4 separate regions of the Homo sapiens genome follow, and all the other regions are linked to region 1. Evidence: promoter capture Hi-C in 16 types of primary human blood cells and fetal thymus (Javierre and others, 2016). All regions are on one chromosome and are shown on one strand. Each heading gives the region's core, a stretch centred on a gene start or on the middle of the fragment in contact. The rest is flanking DNA. Distances are from core to core; before and after follow the strand shown. Region 1 holds the start of PRRX1 (paired related homeobox 1). Region 2 overlaps KIFAP3 (kinesin associated protein 3). Region 3 has its middle 16 kb from the start of SCYL3. Region 4 overlaps KIFAP3 (kinesin associated protein 3).

Evidence for each region. Contacts are between HindIII fragments. The CHiCAGO score rates a contact against its expected background, and 5 or more counts as called.
Region 2: a contact is called between a fragment that was not itself captured here and the fragment with the promoter of PRRX1 in region 1, in 1 of 17 cell types (M0 macrophages). The highest score is 5.6, in M0 macrophages.
Region 3: a contact is called between a fragment that was not itself captured here and the fragment with the promoter of PRRX1 in region 1, in 2 of 17 cell types (M1 macrophages and endothelial precursors). The highest score is 6.9, in M1 macrophages.
Region 4: a fragment that was not itself captured here is called in contact with the fragment with the promoter of PRRX1 in region 1 in 1 of 17 cell types (erythroblasts); the score reaches 7.2 in erythroblasts.

Annotation. Positions count from the first base shown.
Region 1 is chr1:170,662,748-170,665,447 of GRCh38, forward strand. PRRX1 (paired related homeobox 1) reads left to right here and starts at 1,384. Exons shown (of 4, transcript NM_022716.4): 1 at 1,384-1,712. The coding sequence starts at 1,472. RefSeq lists enhancers at 289-816, 2,017-2,700. The HindIII fragment of the contact is 9,244 bases long and covers 1-2,700 here.
Region 2 is chr1:170,070,084-170,073,032 of GRCh38, forward strand. All of the region lies in intron 1 of KIFAP3 (kinesin associated protein 3), which reads right to left. Among named protein-coding and RNA genes, the nearest start is that of KIFAP3, 3.1 kb to the right of the region's middle. The HindIII fragment of the contact is 2,050 bases long and covers 325-2,374 here.
Region 3 is chr1:169,908,144-169,910,843 of GRCh38, forward strand. No RefSeq gene overlaps it. Among named protein-coding and RNA genes, the nearest start is that of SCYL3, 16 kb to the left of the region's middle. The HindIII fragment of the contact is 3,795 bases long and covers 1-2,700 here.
Region 4 is chr1:169,984,761-169,987,637 of GRCh38, forward strand. All of the region lies in intron 11 of KIFAP3 (kinesin associated protein 3), which reads right to left. Among named protein-coding and RNA genes, the nearest start is that of KIFAP3, 88 kb to the right of the region's middle. The HindIII fragment of the contact is 1,882 bases long and covers 443-2,324 here.

The DNA of each region.
Region 1 (2,700 bases), core at 134-2,633:
GGGGCGGTTTGGGGGAAGGCAGAAGGAGAAGAAAATTTGATTGTGATGGTGGTGGATTTTTTCCAAATTTCCCCACAGCTGTTATCAAAACATGCAAATGAGATTTTCCAACAGGATCTTAAACAAATCTGGAGGAGTTAATGCCGAAGCAAAATAATCAGCACGTTTGAAGTGACTGTGAGTTTCAGTTTGTCTTTTCTCCCCGTGATATTATTGCAGGGGAATGATAATTAGACCTTTAGAAATCCAAAGGGGCTCTCTTGCTCTCTTCCCTCTCTCATTTCTCTTCTCTCTTTCTCTCTCTCTCTCTCTCCCTTCCTCCCTCCCTCCCTCCCTCTCTCCCTCCCTCTCTCTTGTTCCCTCCCTCTCCCTTTCTCTCTAACTCTGATGTTGGCAAAGGGGGTTTTCTTAATCAGACTGTTTTTTGGTCCCAGGGAAAGGAGGAAGAAGGAGATTGTGATGGAGAAAGGGGGTCTGTGAAACGTCAGGCACAGCACAAAGGCTTTGCCACGTAATTACAGGCTCCTATTAAGTCGAGATCTGCCCTCCCAGGGGTCTCCAATTTTCTTGTATTCCCTACAAAGCCTCCTCTGCATGCCAGTTTGTGCCTTTTGAAGTGCCAGAGAGCTTCTTGATCCAACTGAGAAGGAAAAAGGAGCCCAGCAAGAAGAGGGGGAGAGAGAGAAGGGGAAAGGGGGGAACCCACCAGCACCCTCCGTCGGACTCTTGAAGCCTTTTTTTTTTAATTCTTAATTTTTTTTTTTACTCTTTACAAAAAGTAAAGTGAGAATCCTGCTCTCTAATACATCTGCAAGACATCACCCTCTCCTCCTGAAACTTTAGTCACTCCTGAGAATCCACAGGAGTGCAGAGAGGGGGGAACACGTTTTCTTGAAGATGTTTTAAAGCTGGAACAAGCCTTCTTCTGTTGGTGCTTGAACTCTTGCCTGGGAATAACTTTTTTAACCTTTAAAAAAACCATTCACTTTGATTCTTCTCTCCCACCCCTTCTTCTCTCTTCTTCTGTTTGCCTAACTCCCCCGCCCTGCTGGCCTCCGCTTTCCTCTCTCCCCCTTGTTATTATTTTTAGTCTGTGCGTGTGGACACTTTTGGAGAGTTGGAAGGGATTTTTTTCTCCTGACTTGAACATAGGGTGACTTTTTAATATTGTATTTTACTGTGGATTATCTCTTTGGACCGCGCCGGACTTGGCCTCAGGAAATCAACCAATGCTGCGGAAGGCGGCTGGTGCACAACGCTCTGCTCTACAGAAGGGGGTCCCCCACCCTCTTTTCCAATTTTTTTTTTTTGGCCTTCCTCTCCTTCCCTCCCTCTTCCTCCCTCTCTCTCTCTCTCTCTCCACTACCCCCCTCTTTCTTCCCCACTCGGCTCCTCTCCCCCCTCGCGCCCACAGCGTTTGGTGTTGATTCGAGCGGGAAGAGGGGGGTGGGTGGGATCGGTGGGGGAGACCATGACCTCCAGCTACGGGCACGTTCTGGAGCGGCAACCGGCGCTGGGCGGCCGCTTGGACAGCCCGGGCAACCTCGACACCCTGCAGGCGAAAAAGAACTTCTCCGTCAGTCACCTGCTAGACCTGGAGGAAGCCGGGGACATGGTGGCGGCACAGGCGGATGAGAACGTGGGCGAGGCTGGCCGGAGCCTGCTGGAGTCGCCGGGACTCACCAGCGGCAGCGACACCCCGCAGCAGGACAGTGAGTGAGGGGCGCATGCCCACGGGGGTGTGTGCCCGGGACAGAGGGCGGGGACCCGTGTAGGGCAGCTAGAGCCCGTCCGCGGCCAGAAAGACAAGGTCCTGGGACCAGGAGAGGTGATGGCAGACTTCAAAGGAAGGGCCAGTCACAGGGGAAACCAGATGAGAAAAGCGGGTCTCGGCCGAGGGCATAGCCAAGGAGGACGCTGGAGAGAGGCTCCAAGGTCCGGGGACACTCCGAGGCCCTGCGGTCTCAGGCAGGGACTCTGTCCGCGGCGGACTCTCTTTACTTCGGCTAGGCACCGGCTCGGTTCATCCCGCACGCGGGGCGGCGGGGCTGGGCTGGGAAAAGGTCTTAGCGGGGTGCAAACTCAGAGAGCCAGCGCTGTTTGGGAAAGCAGCAGGTTAAAGATGCTGAGTCGGGTTGGAAGGGCTTCTCTCGGGCAGCGTATGACGGCTTGAGGGAGGGCACCAGGCACAGGGAGCAGGACTTGGCGCTGCTCAGGCTGCACTCTCCACGCGGGCACCGTAAGGCCGGGCGCGACCGGGAGGCCCCGAGAGAACGCCCGGCCCCAGACGCTGGAGCTGCTCTCTGCCCCCTGCTGTTGCCTCTACCGCAAATGGGTTTGAGACTGGCAGAGTCAAAAGCCCGGCTGGCTTGGGAAAACTCGGGCCAAGCAAAGGGAATGTCCTTTAAGGGTGAAACCTGAAATCCAGCCCCGCATGATCCCGCACAGGCGAGCTGCATCCGGGAGGCGCGAGCTTCAGTGCGGAGGCCAGTGTCACCTTAGAGGAGCTCTCCCTATTGGCTCTTAAACGCCCAGAAAAGTCCAGTTTCCCTTCCCCATCCTCACCGACCAACCTCGCGACCCATGAAAATCTCGCTTCGCTAGTGCCTTAAAAAGAGACTGCAATTGTATCCCCATGCCCCCAAGTCTGTAACAGACCGGTCACCCTGTTCATCCCAGGTGACATGTGGCCAGATATGT
Region 2 (2,949 bases), core at 100-2,599, 590 kb before region 1:
AAAATACTCAGGAGTAAACGTAACCAAGGAACAACTGTATACTGAAAACAAAAAGTTGCTGAAAGAAATTAATATGAACTAAATGAAAAGAAATCACATGTTCATGGACTGAAGGACTTAATATTGTTAAGATGGCAATATTCCCCAAAGTGATCTATAGATTCATTATATTCCCAAAGTTTCAATAGCTTTTTTTGCAGAAATGAAAAAGCCAACCCTAAAATTCAAATGGAAATATAAGGAACCCTAAATAGCTGAAACAACCTTGAAAAAGAACAACAAAGTTGGAGGACTCACACTTCTGGATTTCAAAACTCACTACAAAGCTTCAGTAATCAAAACAGTGAGGTACTAGCACACGGACAGATAGATCAATGAAATATAATTGAGAGTGCAGGAATAAACCCCAACATTTTTGGTCATTTAATTTTCAAAAAAATTGCCCAAACCATTCATGGAGGAAAAGAACAGTCAATTGTTCTTTTCTGACATTTGTTCTGACAAATGATGTCAGAACAACTAGATAGTCACATATAAAAGAATGAAGATGGACCCTTGCCATATACCATAGACAATAACTAACTCGAGATGGATCAAGGATATTAAATGTAAAAGCTAAAACTGTAAAACTCTTAGAAGAAAACAGAGGGACAAACCTTCATGACCTTGGATTTAGCAGTGGTTTCTTAAATAACGATGCCAAAAGCATGAGCAACAAAAGAATAAATTAGACTTCACCAAAATTAAAAATGTTTGCATATGAAAGTTTTACATACCAAGATAGTGCAAAGAAAACCCACAGAATGGGACAAAGTATCTGTAAATCATGTATCTGACAAGGTTCTATTACAAAGAACTCCTTTTCCCAAAGAATAAAGACAAATGGCCAAGAAGCACATGAAAAGCTCAATGTCATTAGTAATTAGGGAAAGGCAAATCAATACCAAAATAAGATACCATTTGATATCCACTAGTATAGTAATAATTACAGAACAGAAAATAACAGGTGTTAGTGAGGATACGGAAAACTGAATTCTTATACATTGCTGGTGGGAATGTAAAATGGTGCAGTCACTAGGGAAAACACTTTAGTGGTTCCTCAATGAATTAAACATAGAATTACCATATGGTCTGGCAATTCCAGGCCTAGGTATACACCAAAAGATACAAAACAAGTGTTCAAACAAAAACTTGTACAGTAATGTTCACAGCAGCTTTATTCCCAATAGCCAATAGGTAGAAACAACCCAAATGTCCACCACCAGATGAGCAATAAACAAACAAAATGTGGTATATCCATAAAATGGAATACTGAATTAGTCAATTTTATGTTGCTATAACACAATACCTGAGACTAGGTAATTTATAAGGAAAAGGGGTTTATTTAGCTTACAGTTCCGCAGGCTGGGAAGTTCAAGGGCATGACTCTGGCTTCCAGTGAGGGCTTTTGTGCTTCATTATAACACAGTGGACAAGATCAAAGGGGAAGTGAGAAAAGAGAATACCCAAGGGTCTTCCTGGCTTTATAACAACCAACTCTAGAGGGAACTAATCCATTCCCAAGAGAGCTAATCCAGTCTCACTAGAGCAAGAATTCACTCACTCCAGCAAGAACAGCACCAAGCCATTCATGAGGGATCCACCCCCAAAACTGAAACACCTCCCAGGCTCCAGCTCCCAACACTGCCACAATGGGGGACCAAGTTTTAACATGAGCTTTGGTGGAAACGAACTATATCCAAACCACAGCAAATATTATGCAGCTATATAAAGGAATGAAGTACTGATACATGCTACCACACAGATGGACCTTGATATACCATGTGAGAAATGCTTGACACAAAAGCCACACACTTTTTTCATATAGCACTCATAAATACAATAAATATCAGTATATTTTAAAGTCTGTATTACTTGCTAGAGTGTAAATGCCATGAAGGCAGGGAATATATTTATGTTTCATTTACCAAATATGTTTTATCACTTGGCTTAATGACTTTTACACAGTAGAATCTCAACTATTAAATGAATGAACAAATGTTGTTCACTTTTAATATCCTTCAATAGTTCACCAATGCACTCAAAATAAAGTCTCAACTCTTTACTAAAGCGCTTAAGTCCCATATGATTTGGCTCATATTTCTTTCTAGTCTTATTCTGACTTTACTTAATAATCTATGTTTCAGGCACCTTGCTGAGTGCTGGGAATACAATGGGAAGTAAGATAGACACATAGCACCTACCTTTATGAACTTTATAAACCAGAAGGAAATATAAAGTAGTAAGTTTAGGGAAAAACAAGGTATTAAGTATCATGAGACCCTAACAGGTATACCTGACCTGGATTGTGAGGTGGGAAAGGGAAGTTCAGGAAAGCTTTCTGGAAAAAGTGGTATTTATGTCAAAACAGGAAAGATGAGGAATTAGCGGGGCAAAGAACAGGGCAAGTTCCAGATAAAGGAAGGGCATGTAAGAATCAAACACCAAAACACATAGAGATTCAAAAAAAATTATTTTTGTAAAACCAAAATATGGAATTACTCAGGTAGGAAGGGACTGAAAATATACTGCTATCTGCTGTCTTGTTAAAAACAAAATATAAAAGTAAAAATATTGTTAAAGAATATATGTAATCATGGTCAAAAAACAATAATTAAAATTGAAGGTTCTATCAGACATCACAAATGTTTTCCATCAGGCCTGTATAAATACATGTCTCCTGTATGCTTCTAGTCTGAAAACAGACAATTCAAACTTTTTATTATTTATAGTAAAAATTAGATGAAATTGAGAAATGTATTTTTCAACCTTTTCAGACTCTAATCTCATTTTACTTCAAACATTACATTGACTGGCTTGGTTTTAATTTTGGAACTCTAGATAGTATGTATTTAAAAGCAAACAATAGGTTGAGAATTATAAGTCACAGTATGCCTCAGTGTCCATACT
Region 3 (2,700 bases), core at 101-2,600, 750 kb before region 1:
GAGGGAGAGGTTTATAAATATATGAAATAGATGCTCTAACTTGAACCACAAGCCTATAAAAAGGAAAACTGGGACAATAGGGGTTATTTCCATCTCTGAATCCAATAGATTAGGGAATTAAATGAAGAATATAAAGAGGGTACTCCAACCACTTGGAGAGAATCTGAGGCACTTCCATACTGCATCAAGTGATGGTACACAACCAGATGCAGAAGAGGAAAATTACTTTTCAGAAAGGCTTGTGGGGTCCCTAATTGCATTCAGTTTTTCTTCTCCTTCCTCTAGCTGATGGGACTCAATGGATATATTCCCAAGGCAAAGAAGAAGCATTGCTAGGAGTTTTCCCTCCAATGAGGAAATGAGCTTGTCTGATAGGAGAGGATAGCTATTTAGGCTAGAATAAATACCTTCTATTAGTGTCAAACACTTATTTTGCAGGACTAGAGGCCTGATTACTCAGAGAGAGACTTGCATTAAAGAAATGGAAGTAGTACAGCTAGGTGTGGTGGTACGCACCTGTAGTCCCAGCTACTTTGGGAGGGTGAGGCAGGAGAATCGCTTGAACCCAGGAGGCGGAGCTTGCAGTGAGCCAAGATTGCGCCACTGCACTCCAGCTTGGGTGACAGAGGGAGACTTCATCTCAAAAAAAAAAAAAAAAAAAAAGCAAAAACAAAAAAACAAAAAGGAAGTAGTGGTGAAGGCAGAAACAGAAATAGGTAACTAAGAGACCAGATGACTCACATCTGGTGATGAACAAGCTAAGAAAAAAAGGCCTAAGATATAATGGACTAAAGTTATATTTACCCTTTGGTGACAATTTTGGCTACACTGTTACACTATATACACTATACTTTTAATTGTATTAGGGATGATGACAATATTTATGACCAGTTGTGCAACTCAACAGCCATTAGTGATTACCACTACGGCAGCTGGTTTTGTGTGTACTATATTGTGTGCTTGTAGGTACTCAGGATGGTAGCTTTTGCTGTTGCTACTTTTAGGTCAACCAATGTATCTGATGTGGAAGCAGAACCCCTGTGTCCTGTTGCCTGAACTACAAACAGTAATTGTAGTTACATTATAACATCAGCATCTGCCACATCTGCTGGAACAAATAATACAGATGTAGTATCTACTGGCACAAGAATTTCATGCTCACAACATCCTTGCTCTCCCATATAACCTGGACAGGAACCTATAACTAAGGAACCTATACCTAAACTATAAACAAGCACACAGCCATTTCAAGAAGTTTCATGTGGGAATTCCTGTGTATTTACTGGTTTCAGATACTGAAGATATACCTACCAGTTAATTTCCTATGAACTAGCAATTCTCAACCCTGGTTGCACATTAAAATCACCTGGCAGAATTTTTTTTGAAATAATTAAAAAAAATTTTTTATATGTCCAGGGCTGACTTTCAATACATTTCAGCGAGAGAGTTGCTCTGCTACATAGGAAACCCCAAACCCCGACCCAGAAGCAGGTCGTCTCTGAGTGATTCAGCGCCAGGTTCCCTACGAACGTGCCTTGTATGAAGGGCGTGGGGGTGGCTGCCTTTTCGGCTGCACCCCATTTCCCAGGACTAGGGGCTCTCTGCACCCGACCCGGTCCCGGTGCACGGCCGGGCAGCCCGTCGGGACCTGGCAGAACTTTTAAACCACGTGATGCATGTGTTCCATCCCCAAAGATGATTTAATTGGTTTGAGTTGGATATATATATTTTTAAAGCTCCCCAGATGATTCCATAAAATGCATACTAGTATAAACAACAGGGCCCATACTGCGAACTAGCGCAGTGGTTCTCAAAGTGTGGTCCTTGACCGGAGCCAGCAGCAGCCCCTGGGAACTTGTTAGAAATGCAAGTGGCTCACGCCTGTAATCCCAGCACTTTGGGAGGCCGAGGTGGGTGGATCTTCTGAGGACAGGAGTTCCAGACCAGCCTGGCCAACATTGTGAAACCCCGTCTCTACTAAAAAAATGCAAAAATTAGCCGGGTGTGGTGGTGGTGGGCCTGTAATCCCAGCTACTCAGGAGGCTGAGGCAGGAGAATCACTTGAACCCGGGAGGCAGAGGTTGCAGTGAGCTGAGATCATACCACTGCACTCCAGCCTGGGCAACAAGAGTGAAACTCCGTCTCAAAAAAAAAAAAAGCAAGTTTTTGAGCCCCATCTCAGACCTGCTGAATCACAAACAATTCCAGTCTGGCCCAGCAAGCCCACCCGGTGATTCTCATTTAAGGTAATGTTTGAGAACCGCTCAACTTGTGAAACAAGTTGCTGGTGTTTGAGCAAGCATCATTTTATTTCTACTAATGCACGAGAAAGACAATTATCCCCAACATGAGCTGGGACAGAACTCTGTGGTCTTATGTGATTATTTGCACTTCTTGAGAATAAATCAGTTTTCCTGAAAATAATGTTTGCTAGACTTCCATGAGAATGAAGTTTTCTTCTGGAGAGCTAAAATTAGCCACACAGACGTTTGTCCTGATAATACTTAAGTAGAAATTCTTCTCTTCCACCCCTGCCCCTGCCTGCGCCCCCCAACCCCTCTCACCTCAAGAAATGATTCATGGTAGGGGCTTCTGGCTGTGAGACTAGGAAGCTAGGGAATATTTGCCCATGTAGTTACCATTTTCAATGCTCTTCATTATTTGGTGTAGATCCATAGTTCATCTGGTATCATTTTTTTC
Region 4 (2,877 bases), core at 134-2,633, 680 kb before region 1:
TTATCATAATGTGTTATCTTAGATTGTACATTGGGCATAATATAATTATTTACATTTCAACACATAAAACTGGCAGGCGTTCACTGTTCAACAACTGGATGAATAAACAGTTAATGAACTCTTAGATGCTCAGCATTAAATATAAACTTCTAAGTACAGTGGAGAATATAAGAGAAATATTAGATAAAACATCTGTCCTTAAATAATTAAACATATTGTTTGGAAGCAGAGCATTCCAAGCAAAGAAAATAGCTTATGCAAAGGTCACAATGCAGGAAAAAACAGTACTCTTTGAAGAATTAAAAGCAAGCAAGCATTGTTGGTGAAAGGGAAACAACAGTTTTAAGAGATAAGAAGGTAAAAACCAGATCATGCAGGGTCTTGAAGTACATGTTAAAGATTTTGGCCTTCGTGCTAAGAAGGATAATGGGAAGCTGCTAAAAGCTTCTAAATAGGAAAGTGTCAGGATAAAATTTGTGTCTCAAAAAGATTTACCCAGTGTAGAAAATAGAATAAAATTGCAAGAAAATATGGGGAACCAGGTAGGATGCTAGAGGAAAAGTCCAAGTGAGAAGATGGGTGTCTGAACTAGGTAGAGATAAAAGGATTGATTAGACATATATTTAGAAAACAGAACCAAAATGGAATGTAGTAACTGACTAGATGTTATGGTTAAAGGAGTGGAGGAGTCAAAGATGACTTCTGGATTTATGCACTGAGAAATGACATACATGGTGCTGCCAACATCTACCGAAAAGGAGAAACTAGGGTAGAAAAAAACTTTAAAGGAAAGATAGTAATTTTGGTTTTAGATATGTTGAGTTTAAGCTGCTTATGTGATAGTCTAGTGCAGGTATTCAGTAGGAAGTCATAAACACAGGCCTGAGTTTAGAAGAAATGTCTGGACTAGAGGTATAATTTTAGGAACTGGCATATATGGTTGAAAACTGAAGCTGCAGGCTAAATCCAATCACTTGGGCATGGGTATAAAATGAGAAAAAAACATTTTTAGTGATAAGAGAAAAAGAAAGAGGGTCTGAAAAACAACAGACAAAAAGGTAAGAAGGAAAAGGTAGGCTACCTATGCCATTTAGCAGTAATCTAGATTTGTCATGGTGAGAAACAGCTGCTATAATAAAGGACAAATGAACAAATTTTATGCTATGTTTTGGAGAAGCTAGTCTTCTATTATTGTCAAATCAGCAAATTAACTTAGTGTATAGTACATAAAGAGAGTTTTTTCTCAGCCCAAATTGTTAACAACAAATAGAAGTTATTCCTAAAATTTATAATATAAAAACTTACTATGTTTTATCTCAGGGCAATACCTTTTTAGAACATGTTGGATTCATGCCTTCATGAATCCAACACAGCGAATAATAAATATTTATTTATTTTAGACCTCTTTCTGTTAAATCTTGTTTTGATTACTGTTAGTTCAAGATGACTTCTGCATTTCAAAAATGATATGTGGTCAATATACAAAAATCAATCACATTTCTATGTGTTAGCAATGAACAGCTGAAAACCAAAATTAAATTTGGTTAAATTAAATTAAATAAAAAACACAATACCACTCAAATTGTTAGGTATAATTCTAAGCAAATACACTGATCTGTATGCTGAAAATTACAAAACACTGTAGCAGGTGAACGGCTGGCATGTATCATATGCTCCCCTTGAGGGCAGATCTTTAACCACAAATATTACCACTGATAGTATCTCTGGGTAAGAATCATTAATACTTAATAATGCCACAGAATAAAAAAAGATTCAAGGGCAAAAGTAAAATAATCTTAATTTACTGGATATATATTTAACAGATTTCACTACCTATCTGCCCAATAAAAATTAAATTACAAATAAAATTGCCAATAAAAATTAAATTACAAATTACCAAAAATGTAGGTGACAATCCTCTAATTAATTGCTATGTTTTCTAAACTGTAATTAAAAACCTACCATAGATTTTTTTCAATCTGAGAATCGGTTACATTGAAGCAATGTTTCAAGCAAAGTATTTATTGCTAACAAAAAGTATTTACTTCAAATCAACCTTTGTAGTATGAAAATTAGCCTTAAACACAGGGCTACAGGTCATTATTTTAGAAGGTAAATTTTCTCTAAAGTAATTTCCATATTAAATTCTACCTAGAAATAAACAATCAGAAACTAGATTTTTAGAAAATAATGCATGGCTCGAAAACTTACTCAACTCCCATTCCCCATATCGAGCTAAATTAGGACTAAATATAAATGGAATGCATAATGATATAGAATTAGTTTTTCATAATAAGAGAGATAAACATTTCAATTTTAATTAAAGCTTTCAAATTTAAAAAAGCAATGTTTAGTTCAAACTCCACATGAAAGAGTATGTCTTTAATTTGATTGCTATGATGGCACTTCAAAAGTAAGTGTAATTGCTGACAACTAGAAAATATTAAAACTAGATTTGTTCTGTTTTAACTATGTCCATTGTCATCTTTTACTAATTTACCAGAAAAGCACTAAAAGGGCTTCAGTCTGTGCGATGAAGAGGCAATAGTGTTCAATCAGACAAGTCCCATATTGAGTATCAGATACCAAAGACCCATGACTGAAATCACTGTGTCTAGACTCTCTGGCACCTGACTTCACTTATTTACCACTGACCAGAGGCCAACCCCCACAGCTCTCTGTATTCACATATAACTCTACCACCCCCATCCCCTACCCAAACATCTTTGAATGATTATACCAGAACTTTGCATGCCTCCGGAATCTCTTCTGACTGGCTACTCCCTAACTCTCCTGTTTGAAGTGATGCTCTGGTTTCTGAACTTCAGCAGATAATGGCAGGCAAGAGCAAAGGGGGCTGTCAGAAAGGACGTTTAC